Regions from separate parts of the Homo sapiens genome. Here regions 1 and 3 are each linked to region 2. The links are contacts of gene promoters, found by promoter capture Hi-C in blood cells and fetal thymus (Javierre and others, 2016). All regions are on one chromosome and are shown on one strand. The core of a region is centred on a gene start or on the middle of the fragment in contact, and the rest is flanking DNA. Distances in the headings are between cores, read along the strand shown.

What was found. The method cuts DNA at HindIII sites, captures the fragments that hold promoters and counts their contacts. A CHiCAGO score of 5 or more calls a contact.
Region 1: a fragment that was not itself captured here is called in contact with the fragment with the promoter of ZCCHC12 in region 2 in 1 of 17 cell types (M1 macrophages); the score reaches 6.0 in M1 macrophages.
Region 3: a fragment that was not itself captured here is called in contact with the fragment with the promoter of ZCCHC12 in region 2 in 1 of 17 cell types (monocytes); the score reaches 6.3 in monocytes.

What each region holds. Positions count from the first base shown.
Region 1 is chrX:119,093,963-119,097,942 of GRCh38, forward strand. KIAA1210 reads right to left here. Exons shown (of 12, transcript NM_001394962.1): 7 at 2,532-2,729. Among named protein-coding and RNA genes, the nearest start is that of CT47C1, 23 kb to the left of the region's middle. The HindIII fragment of the contact is 247 bases long and covers 2,111-2,357 here.
Region 2 is chrX:118,821,404-118,825,073 of GRCh38, forward strand. It overlaps ZCCHC12 (zinc finger CCHC-type containing 12), which reads left to right and starts at 2,421. Exons shown (of 4, transcript NM_173798.4): 1 at 2,421-2,602; 2 at 2,936-2,987; 3 at 3,186-3,310. The HindIII fragment of the contact is 2,857 bases long and covers 927-3,670 here.
Region 3 is chrX:118,490,720-118,494,611 of GRCh38, forward strand. No RefSeq gene overlaps it. Among named protein-coding and RNA genes, the nearest start is that of DOCK11, 3.1 kb to the right of the region's middle. The HindIII fragment of the contact is 2,272 bases long and covers 490-2,761 here.

The DNA.
Region 1 (3,980 bases), core at 984-3,483, 270 kb after region 2:
AGATCCTTGGGGATCATTTTACCTACTGGAAGTGGTTCATCCAGGTTTGGAGTTTCTAATGTCTGAGTGACACACTGCAGGGATCCCTCTAAAATACCCTGGAAATGACTGAACCACACTGGAAGGCCACGAATCTGAAAACGGGGTCATTGGGCCTGACAACAATCATGCCCTCGGCCATATTGGGATTCTCCGATTTGCTTCACCAGACCTGTGAGTCAAATTCAAATCCTTTTTGGCTTCTTTTCAGGGAATGTAATGAAAGCATGAATTATCTCTTTCCAGATCAAAAGAAGAAAAAGAATTGGGGTTTTGTTGGGAGGGAAAGGAGAAAAAGCTGAAAGGTTCAGCCCTTACACTGGATGGGCTGAAGTTGGTTTAGTATAAATAAGGTTTTCTGATAATTACAATACAGCTCTGGAAATGTCAGCATAGCACTGCACTGAACAGTGTCCGGAATTTGCTTAGTGTAAGCCTTTATGGCATGCATGTAAAGACAAACATGTAACTCTTTACACTCCCACTCAAAGTGCCTGTGCAAACAGACACAGCTCATAATAATTTATTTTTGAGTAAACGTGGTCAGATTGGCCTGGATTCAAAATCTCTTCATCATTTACTTGCTGCGTGACCTTGGGCAAGTTATTCTCTGAATCACTGTGTCTACATCAATAAATAAGGGACCAGGAGAAACCTCCTGTGGGACTTGTAGATCTAAGAAATTACAGAGCAGGGAGAAAGTGGTAGTAGTCCCTGTGTCATAAATGATCCTGGATCTTTTTTATGTTCATCCACATGTCAGAGAGAGAGTCACAGGGAAGAAGTGGATGCTCTGGCCTTCTCAGAGGGTAATGCCCGGGCTTTTTCTCAACTAGGCTATACAGAAAGAAGAAAGTTAGAAGGGTCATACTGCTTCCCTCAGCCAACCTTCTCCATCTCCCAGGTTTGTGGTGAGGTATTCAGGGGATAATGCATGTATAGGGTTTGGCACCTAGTAATTGGTCACCCCTTCTTTGACACCAAACTAACAAGGTACTCTCAAGGCCACCAGAGGGCTTCCCTCTGCCGCCCTGCTCCTCCACCTGTTCTTTCAACTCGTATTTTGTCTAAAACCTAAAGTGAAATTGAGATGCCTAAGCTAGAGGCAAGATGGTGGGATGAAAAAAGTGTTGAGCTGGAAGTCAGAAGACTGGATTCTGGCCCTAGCTCTGCTATCACCTGGGTGTTTGACTTTGGGTAAGTATCTGAAATTATTTGTGCTTTAATGCCCTTCTCTGTAAAATGTTTGTACTATACAATCTTTTAGTCACTTCACCTCTGATTTACAGTCTCTTCCTTTCAGCCCAGAATCACTGGCGAATTCAGTTTTTGATCAAAGTGAGTTTTATAGACAACTGACACATCGTTTTAAACACTAAACACTAACATTTTTTAACTTTTTTTTTTTAAACGGAGTTTTGCTCTTGTCCAGGCTATAGTGCAATGACACAATCTCGGCTCACCACAACCTCCACCTCCCGGGTTCAAGCAATTCTCCTGCCTCAGCCTCCAGAGTAGCTGGGATTACAGGGATGTGCTACCACACCTGGTTAATTTTGTATTTTTAGTAGAGACGGGGTTTCTGCATGTTGGTCAGGCTGGTCTCACACTCCTGACCTCAGGTGATCCGCCCGCCTTGGCCTCCCAAAGTGCTGGGATTACAGGCATGAACCATTGCACCCAGCCCTAATCCTTAACTTTTACTAAAAGCCTTTTCCAAAAGCATTATTTCTCTATCTTTTTAAACAGGGATCACGGAAAATAATCTACTTTTTCTAGATGACTTGGACAAATAATAAAATTATCTATTACATTGGACTATGATATAGTGTGGCCCTGAAGGACATATTGAGGTGGGCAAGGTTCTTGAGCCCCTATATTAAATGGCCCCAGATTGTTTCTGTCATTCTGTCTGCTACCAGCTGTCACTTCTCTTTGCTGTCAGGTCTGAGTCTAATCTGTGGCCATGTTTTTAACACAGTAGGTCTGCTTCCTGGAAAGTCATGTGGCATCTATTTGGAGATCTTTGGATGGGTTAACAACTAAGTTCTGGATGTTTAGGGTTGCTGAAAGCTTGATCTCCAAATAAGTGGAATAGTGCTGCAATTTGTGACTCATGGGTCTCATCTGATTAATAACTGAAAGAATCCTGATCTGGGCTAGGGTTGAATATTCTCTACAAATAGGGCTGAGTGAACTCCCAGATGTTAGCCCAATAAGCAGTTTATGGGGGTTTAAATCATTTACTGTTTCTGCTTCCTTTTAGTCCCTTCTAATATAAGTTCCACATGGATAGGAAACCACACCCAGCAGATGCAAGCTTGCTCACCCCTCTGGGGGTGTCAAGCTTAGGACAGCACCCTTGACCTTGCCAAGCTTACTTAGGGCATGAGTCTCCTACACCATACTATTTCCCTAGTAGTAGTTTGCAAAGGTTGGAACTCATCTTTTCTTATACAGGAGTTTAGTGCCCTGTCTCTTGAAGGACTTACAATCACTTGAAGGTTCTTCTTTTGTTTGCGGGGATTTAAAGTCATTTTGTGGCGAGCAGCTGAAGAATCCAAACAGCCCTGGGTGGTGGCTGGGGTGCTGAAACCAATGGGCAGCTGGGTGCTACTGGTAGAGGCAAGTGTGGCAAATGCAGTCAAGGACTGTGAGCAATCAGGTCCAGATGATAACTCAGAGAAGCTCTGGGGAAGGTGGGAGAAAATAGACGAGTCAACCCGTATGCTGTTACTGGTCTCAAAAGTTGGATATTCTTCCGGCTGAAGAATTCCCAAAGAAGAAATCCTTCATGAACTATTGTCCCCTTTCCTACATTTCCTGTCAATGGGCTTATTCATTAGAGGTAAGCTCCATAATTTTACTGGTTTTCTTGCAGATGAAAACAAGAAACAGGAAGAAGTTTGGGTTACTCCTCTGCTTAGAAAGCTTTCAGGGGCACCCCATTGTCCTTGGGATGGGAACACAACCACTTAATTGAGTTTGCAAAGTCAGAGAGATTGCATGTTCTCTTGTCCTAGATCCCCTTCTTATCAACAGGACATCTGGCTGGGGTGAGAGGAACAATTGGTATCAGTGAAACCCAGCAGAGCTCTGGGATTTCTATATTGGAGGGTTGGGTGGAGGGAGGAAAATCAGGTTGGAAGAGGGCCTGTCTGCAAGGTGCATTTTCATAGACAGCACACTACCTTTTATTTATATTGACAGTTCATGGGTGCAAGACTGATGGGAGGACCCTCAGGAACTGAATGCTCTAACCTCCAGTGGGATAGTGATGGAGCCTGTAACCCTGTCCTCATTATGGCTGGCCTCCATATCTCCATACTATTTGGTTCTGGGACACCTAGTTGAATTCCTCTGTAGGATCTTCAAAATAGTCTCCTCTGGGCTTCTGGACATAGCATTTTCCATATCTCAAAGAGCCTCCCCAGAGCTCTTTCCATTTCTAAGAAGATTTCGATTTCTGTTAGCAGAAGGCCCTTTGAAGATCAGCTGATAAACTGTCTCTGCTAGATACTAGTAGCAAACCATATATTATAATTTAGCAAGTAGACAGAATCTCCCATTGTGTTTACCCACTAAGTTCTCTTCAGGCTAGTTTTGCAAAGTGCCAGGTATCCCCTTGGTACTTGCAGCTTTCACATGCCTTCATGGTTCCCACCACCATTGTATGTTGATGCAGTGATAACCTTAGCTACTATCTTGGTTATGAAGATGGCACTGTCATTCCAGTGCATGGGGACTTAACGCAGTGCTAATGAGTCAGGCTGATGACAAATCCTGCAGACCATTCAGTTTTGGATTCAGGGAGAAGACAGAGAAATAGTACAGTTGACTTTTGTGGGATCAATCACACAAAAGTAGGATTGATCCCAAGATTTCCTTTACTTCTTTGTGCAACTTTCATCTATGAATTTATATACTGCCTCTTCCTGATA
Region 2 (3,670 bases), core at 1,171-3,670:
GAAGAAAACCCCTAAGCTATTGCCAGCATCACCCCCGACTGTGTGAAGTAAGCAACCTGCCTTCTCTGCACCTCCAAAATCCTCCACCCACCACCACCACCATTCCAGTGTTCCATCCACAAGAGAAAGGTCATGCCCCTGAGATGAAGGTGCTTTGTCTTTAAATGTAGATTGTTTACTCCAAGGAATTCTAGGTATTGGAGTTGGAAATAAGAAGGCAGAAAGAAGCAGGTAAAGTACCTTGGCAGGCTGAAGCTGAAATTAACAGCAGCTGAAAAGCATCAGACTGTTCACTCACTTCCAAACATCAGGAGTCAAGAACAAGCAACTCCTTTGCACTTGGGCAGTCCAAGTGCACTTGGTCTTGACCCCCCAAAGTTCCCACAGGAGTCTCTTAACCACACTTTACATGAGAGAAGGAAGGCTTGCTTTCCCAGAACCAGAAGTAAGGGAAAATGGAGTGCTGCAGGCTGAATTATGTTCCCCCAAATTCATTGTAATCCTAACCCTCAGTACCTTAGAGTGTGACTGTATTTAAAGATAGGGCCTTTAAAGAGGTTATTAAGGTAAAAATGAGGCCCTTAGGGTGGGCCCCAATCTGACTTGTGTCCTTATAAGAAGAGGAAATTTGGACACACTGAGAGAACCCAGAGGCACATATGCACAGAGAGGATGGCCAAGCAAGAGGGCAGCCATGTGCAAGCCAAGGAGAGAAGCCTCAGGAGAAACCAACCTTGCTGGCACCTTGAAGTTGGACTTCCCAACCTTCAGAACTATGAGCAATACATTTCTGTTGTTTATAAACCACCCAGTCTATGGTATTTTGCCATAGCACCCCAAACAGACTAAAACAGCACTGTAACAAATTATCACAAACTTGGCTTAAAACAAGAGAAGTTTAATTTCTCACAGTTCTAGAAGCCAGAAGCTTAACATCTGTTTCTCTGGGCTGAATTCAAGGTGTCAGTAGGACTGTGCTTTATTCCTTGCCTCTTCCAGTTTCTGGTGGCTGCTAGCATTCCTCTGCTTATGGCCACATCACTAATCTCTGGTCATTGCCTTCTCTTCTTGGTGCACCAACTCTCCCTCTTTTATAAGGGCACTTGTGGTTTAGATTTCAGCCTGCCTGGAAAATTAAGTCAAAAAGCCTTAACTTAATCACACCTGCAAAGACCATTTTACTTTATAAGGTAACATTTACAGGTTTCAGGGATTAGGACTTGATACATTTGGGTGGCCATTATTTAGCTTCATACAGAGTCCGAAATCTTTGCATACAATTTCAGGAAGATCATGGATTCCAGGTAGGCACATCTGCTCTGGAGTTGCATTTCACCACAGATACCTGTGGACAGATATTGGAGACAGGCTCATTTACTTATTCACAAACCTTGCTACAACTCAGAACCAACCGCAGCGCCGGTTAAAAATACTAAATACAAAACCACATCACAACCGCTAGTCCTAGTAAATCTGAATCCACCAGAGTTGGGGCCCAGAGCCTACATTTCTTTTCTTTTCCTTTTTTTTTTTTTTTTTTTTTTTTTTTTTTTTTTTTTGAGAGGGAGTCTTGTTCCCTTGCCAGGCTGAAGTGCAGCGGTGCGATCTTGGTTCACTGCAACCTCCGCCTCCCAGGTTGGAGAGATTCTCTAGCCTCAGCCTCCCAAGTAGCTGGGATTACAGGCACGCGCCATCATGCCCAGCTGATTTTTTTTTTTTTTTTTGTCTTTTTAGTAGAGACGGGGTTTCAACATGTTGGCCAGGATGGTCTCGATCTCTTGACCTCGTGAGCCGCCCGCCTCGGCCTCCCAAAGTGCTGGGATTTCAGGCGTGAGCCACCATTCCCGGCCAGAAGACTGCATTTCTAACAAGCTCCCCCAAATGACTCTGATGTCTTGCCCCCATACTTGAATGGGTATTGGTTGAGAGCCTTGTTCTCCAGCTCTCCTCTCTGTTAAATGGACATACTGCTACTTCTTTCACAGTAAAAGAGGAGATGTGTGTGAAAGCCTGTTTCCGCAATGCACGTGCTAATGCTCTTCCCGCCCCTTCCCCTCTTCCCCGTCTTTTCCCTATACCAAGGTGAAGAACTTTTATTATTCACTTGATTTTGGACCCACTTCGTGTTTAATGCACCTGGCCTAAGATGCAGAGTTGAGCCCAGGGAGAAGGGACGGGTTGGGGGAGGAAGAAAGAGTCGCAAATTCCCAGGCAGATTGGCTCCATCGGTCTAATCAAGCTGCACTTGACGCTCCGCGGGCCTGCTGCGCCCCCGCCCCCTCAGGCGAAAACTCGCCTCTGCCCAAGGCTGTGCGGGGCGTCCGCCCCCGCACTTCGCTGATTGGCCGCACTAGCCCGCTCGTCACGCTCTTTTGTCTCAGCTGGCAGAGGATAAAAGCCGCCGCGGCTGCCTTAGGAACGGCGCTGCCTCGTCTCTGCTACCCCTGGTTGGGCGGCCCTGCGAAGCAGCTCCTTCGGGCAGCCCCGGGTCGCTTAGCGGCCAAGGAGGCTTCAGTTCTTTGCCGCCTGCAAGGCGGAGACCAGAAGGCGGAATCCACAGCTGGCGACGCGGGAGCATCTGCTGTCCACCAGCGGAGCACAGGTAAAGAATGGGGGTGTGATTGCCCGGCGGGGAGAGGGGTGGGGGAAGACCCACCAGTACTGGGCGGCTCCCAGCTTGGAGAATCGGTGACTGTGAGGCAGGGGTAGGAGTACTCTCGTGGCCCGGCTGCGCTGAGGGAGGAGGTGGGGTTCACCTGGATACTGCGGGCTAGGTAGGATTTGCCTGGATTTGGGGGTGGGAGGAGAGGCGAGGAGTAGCGGGGGGAGGAATCTCGAGCTGTTTGCTTCGAACATCCTTTGCATCTCCTCATCTCTTTCTGGGAGGAATATGTGGGTGGGTGTGTCCAACTCCTATTCCCTTTCTCCGTGGCAGGCCATCAAAGCCGCATCTGAACTTGAATTCTGTGCAGCTGATTGCAGAGCTGGTAGGCCGACGGCTTCCCGGGGGAAATGTAATGCTGGAGGGTGGGGGGCTGGTCTCTGGCTTATAGTCAGGAGGGGGCAGAGAGAATTTTTCGCCTGGCAACAGCGGAGGTGGTGGGTAGCAGGATGACGGGTGAAGCTGCTTCTAACCCTTCCCTTCTCTGGCCTTCTCCGCTGTGGCGCAATCTTGAAACCTCAAGGACCCGGATCTGCGACCCCCTGTGGACAGAGGTTGACCGTACCCCGGAGAGGAGCTTTCTCACGGAGGGCACTGGTTGCAGAGGCTGGAAGTGAAATAAAGACGCGCTCTTGTTTCAGAGTTCGTGTAAGAATCTGAGAAATAACAAGGGGGACGGGCGTGGGGGGCACTTTGAGAAGGGGGTGTGGTTGAGACCAGAGACCATGAGGTTAATGAGATCTTATTTTATTTCCACAAATCTGCGATCATTGTACTCTATTTGGAGAGCCCAATATCAGCTCCAGACACTGCTACACCTAGAATTTGAAGCAACAGTTACCGTCCCTCTTGGAGGACTGGTGGGAGGGATGGATGTGGCTGCAAAAAGCACCTTGCTAGCACGCAGGCATCGGGTAGCTCTGGGAGGTTGTAAGTGTCAATCTCCTACAGGATTATTTTTAGGGTAGTGGGCAAATATAAAATGTACTGCAGGATATTCAGGTAGGA
Region 3 (3,892 bases), core at 376-2,875, 330 kb before region 2:
AAGCTCATGAGGCAAGGAACTGAGGCCAACCTCTGGCTGACAGCCAGCAAGGAACTAAGGCCCTTACTACAACAACCTGTGAGGATCTGGATGCTGCCACAACCAGTGAATGGGCTTAAAAACAAATTCTGCCCCAGTTAAACCTTGAGATGGGTGAGGCCCCTGCTCTGACACCTTGATCATAGCCTATGAGAGATCCTGAACTCATACCTTGATGGCAGCCTAGCGAGAGACTCTGGTCTGGACAACCCAACTAAGCCATGCTTAGATTCCTGAACGACAGAAACCGTGAGATAATACATGTGTATTGTTTTAAGCTGCTAAACTTGGGGGTAATTTGTTACACAGCAAGAGATAACACTAGATATTGTAGGTCACTGTAAGTAGAAACTGAATAGGGGGTTGGTGGGACTCACTGGCTATGTTGCAAATAGACTACAGGAGGGTAAGGGTGAAAGCAGGGAGGTCAGTTGAGAGGCTATTGACATAAGCTTGGTAAGGGTTGCTGGTGGTATTGGTAGAGATATTAAGAAGTGGTTGGATTTCAGACGTATTTTGAAGGCAGAGCCAACAGGCTTTGCTGTTGGTTGGATAAAGGGTGTGTAGGTAATAAGATGACTCTAAGGCTTTTGTTCTGAGGAACTAGAAAGAATGATCATATACTGAGATGGAGAAAACTATAGAAAAACTAGATTCGTGGAGAAAGAATAAGAGTTCGATTTTAGGCACGCTTAATTAGAGATACTAGACATCCCAGTGGGGATGCTGAGTTCGATATACAAGTTTGATGTTTGAGGCTGGAAATAAAAATTTGAGAGTCTTTAGCATTTAGATGATAAAATGTTAAAGTCTCCTTGCTCCCCACTTCCACTCCCCACCCATGAGGCCCCCACTATTAGCTCATGTATAGGGACATACATATACACACACACCACACACACAAATTTTTCTTTTTTTGAGACAGAATCCCGCTGTATCCTCCAGGCTGGAGTGCAGTGAAGCGATCTTGGCTCACTGCAATCTCCACCTCTCGGGTTCAAGCCATTCTCATGCCTCAGCCTCCCAAGTAGCTGAGATTACAGGGTGCACACCATCACGCCTGGGTAATTTTTGTATTTTTAGTAGAGACGGAGTTTCGCCATGCCATGTTGGTCAGGTTGGTCTCAAACTCCTGGCCAGGTTGGTCTCAAACTCCTGGCCTCAGGTGATCCGCCTGCCTCAGCCTCCCAAAATGTTGGGATTACAGGCGTGAGCCACCGCGCCTGGCCCACACATACACATTTTCATAAATAGAGTTGTTCTGCAACTTGCTTTTATCAGTGAATATCCTTTGGAGCTTTTTCAATGTAATTACATACATATTTACCTCATTCTTTTTTTAATAGCTGAAGAGAGTCCCTTCATTTGAATAAATCATGTGTATTCATTCATTCGCTGAACAACTATTTTTTGAGCACTCACAATGTGCCAGGCAGTGGTCTAGGGACTGATCATAAAGAAGTCCCTTTTAGATGGACATTCAGGTTCTTTCTAATATTTTGCTATTACAAACATTTGATATAATGACCATCCTTATACAGGCATCTGAGCTCACATATGCAAGTTTTTATTTGGCATTGATTTATACAAGTGGAATTTCTCAGTCAAAGGGCTCAATGGCATTTCTAATACTTGTATCTCAGGTTCAATTAGGATAGAATTAGGATAGTGTTAATGCAGCAGCTAAATTTGTGATAAAAACTGAATATATTTAACGAATGTGGAAAAGAAATCGCCCAATAAAATGCCCTATTGGAAGTTGTAAGATTGCACCTACGATTTCTCTTTACTATGTGAGTGCAGTTATATCCAAATCCTACCCATTCCGCAAAGTCCAGCTCAAATGCTCAAACACCCCCTGTTCCAGAAAACCTTTCATAGACCTAAGAAGATATGATCTCTCCTGCCTTTTTTTTTTCTTTTTTCTTTTTTGAGATGGAGTCTCACTCTTCTTGCCCAGGCTGGAGGGCAATGGTGCAATCTTGGCTCAGTGAAATCTCTGCCTCCCGGGTTCAAGTGATCTCCTGCCTCAGCCTCCCAAGTAGTTGGGATTACAGGTGCCTGCCACCATACCTGGCTAATTTTTGTATTTTTAGTAGAGACGGATTTTGCCATGTTGGTTAGGCTGGTCTCGAACTCCTGACCTCAGGTGATCCACCCACCTCGGCCTCCCAAAGTGCTGGGATTACAGGCATGAGCCACCGCGCTCGGCCTCTCCTGCCTCTTTACCTTGAGTATGGTCTGTATCACATACTACTTTGTACCATAAATACATTCTCTACTAGACTTTCTTTTTTTTTTCCCAGAAGGAAATAGTGTCTTTAATTCATACTGCATTCTCCCTCAGTGTGTAGCACCATGCTCAATGTTTATGTATTTAAATAGAAGTCTTAAACCAGAAGAAGTGAAATCTACAATCTCAAGAATGAGCATAGAGCCTGCACAATGGCCAGATGGTGTTTGTGCACCATCAGTGTGACATATGCTTCCCATGGCTCACAATACTCTGCAGAAATTGCTTACTTCTCCTACTCTATCTTGTACCACTCTTCTTCCTTCTACGCTCCAGCCACACTGGCCTTTTTTTGGTCTTTGAACACACTAAGTCTGCCCCCATCTCTAGGCCTTCGTTCCTGGCATTTCTGTCGCCTGGAATGGTCTACCTGCTGATCTCTGCTGACTGCTTCTTTAAGACTCAGCTCAGTGTTTACCTCCTCAAAGAAGCTTTTCTTGATCATCTATTTTAAACTAGGTCCCCAACTCCAGTTACTCTCTATCAACTCCCCTTAATTCTCTACATAGCATTTATGTTTCTGAAATTAACATGTTCATTTCTTTGCACTGACATGTGAGCTCCAGGAGAGGAGGGACCTTGCCTGTCTTGTTCAATGCTGTGCACCTTCAGTGGCTACCATAGAGCCTGTGGTACTAAGAATGCTTTTGGCTGAAAGTAACAGAATATTCATCTAAACGTGTCATAAACTGCAGGGGTTTATTTTTCTTACATAAAAAGGAACTAGAGGTAGGCAGTATCAGGCCTGGTTCAACAGTTCAATGCTGTCTGGATTCTACATTGGCTTCTCTGAGATTGCCTTGGCCTTGCCTCATGGTTGCAATATGGCTGCCAAGGGCCAAAGCATTGCAAGAAAACATCCCTCTCAGGAAGAAAGTGGGGCCTGGGCCTCTCTCCTTTTTTTTTCATCAAGGTAGAAAAACTTTCCCAGGAACCCTCCTCTCACACTTCCCTCTTATATCTTATTGGCCCAAACCGATTGGGAGTCTAGACCATCCCACTAGTCAATAAGAGGGAGCTTATCATGGTTTTTTCATCAGTCATGATTCATCACCTGGAGTTGGGCCTGCCTTCCTTAAACCCTGTGGCTCTGCCCTATATCTGAAGTAAATCTGGGCTCTCTTTGCAAGCAAAAAGTGTTATAGCTATTGTGGTGGTAACCAACAGCATGAGCCACACAGGCATTTATGGAACAGAGGGTATGAATTCTTGGAGATCAGCCTACACGCAACAATTAACAAATTTTACACGTACTGTGCAAAACTAAGATTTGTGACAGAATGTCTTTAGAGGACTTCCAGGTCCCAGGCCCTCTAGGAGCCTCCATATATGCTTTATTGAGACTGATGGGATGGCTGAAATAGGCTTACTGCGAAGAGACTTGGCCTTTTCTGGGTTCAAAGAAACCATCACCACGCATGCCCTTGTTTCCATAATAAAGTCCCCTAAAAGACTGTTTGGTCTTTGAGGGTGGGGAAAGTGCCCGATGGGTGGTGGTAGGACTGCTTTCAGAAGGGCTGCTCGGTCCCCCAGACTGAGGGCCATTTTCAAACTCTCAAC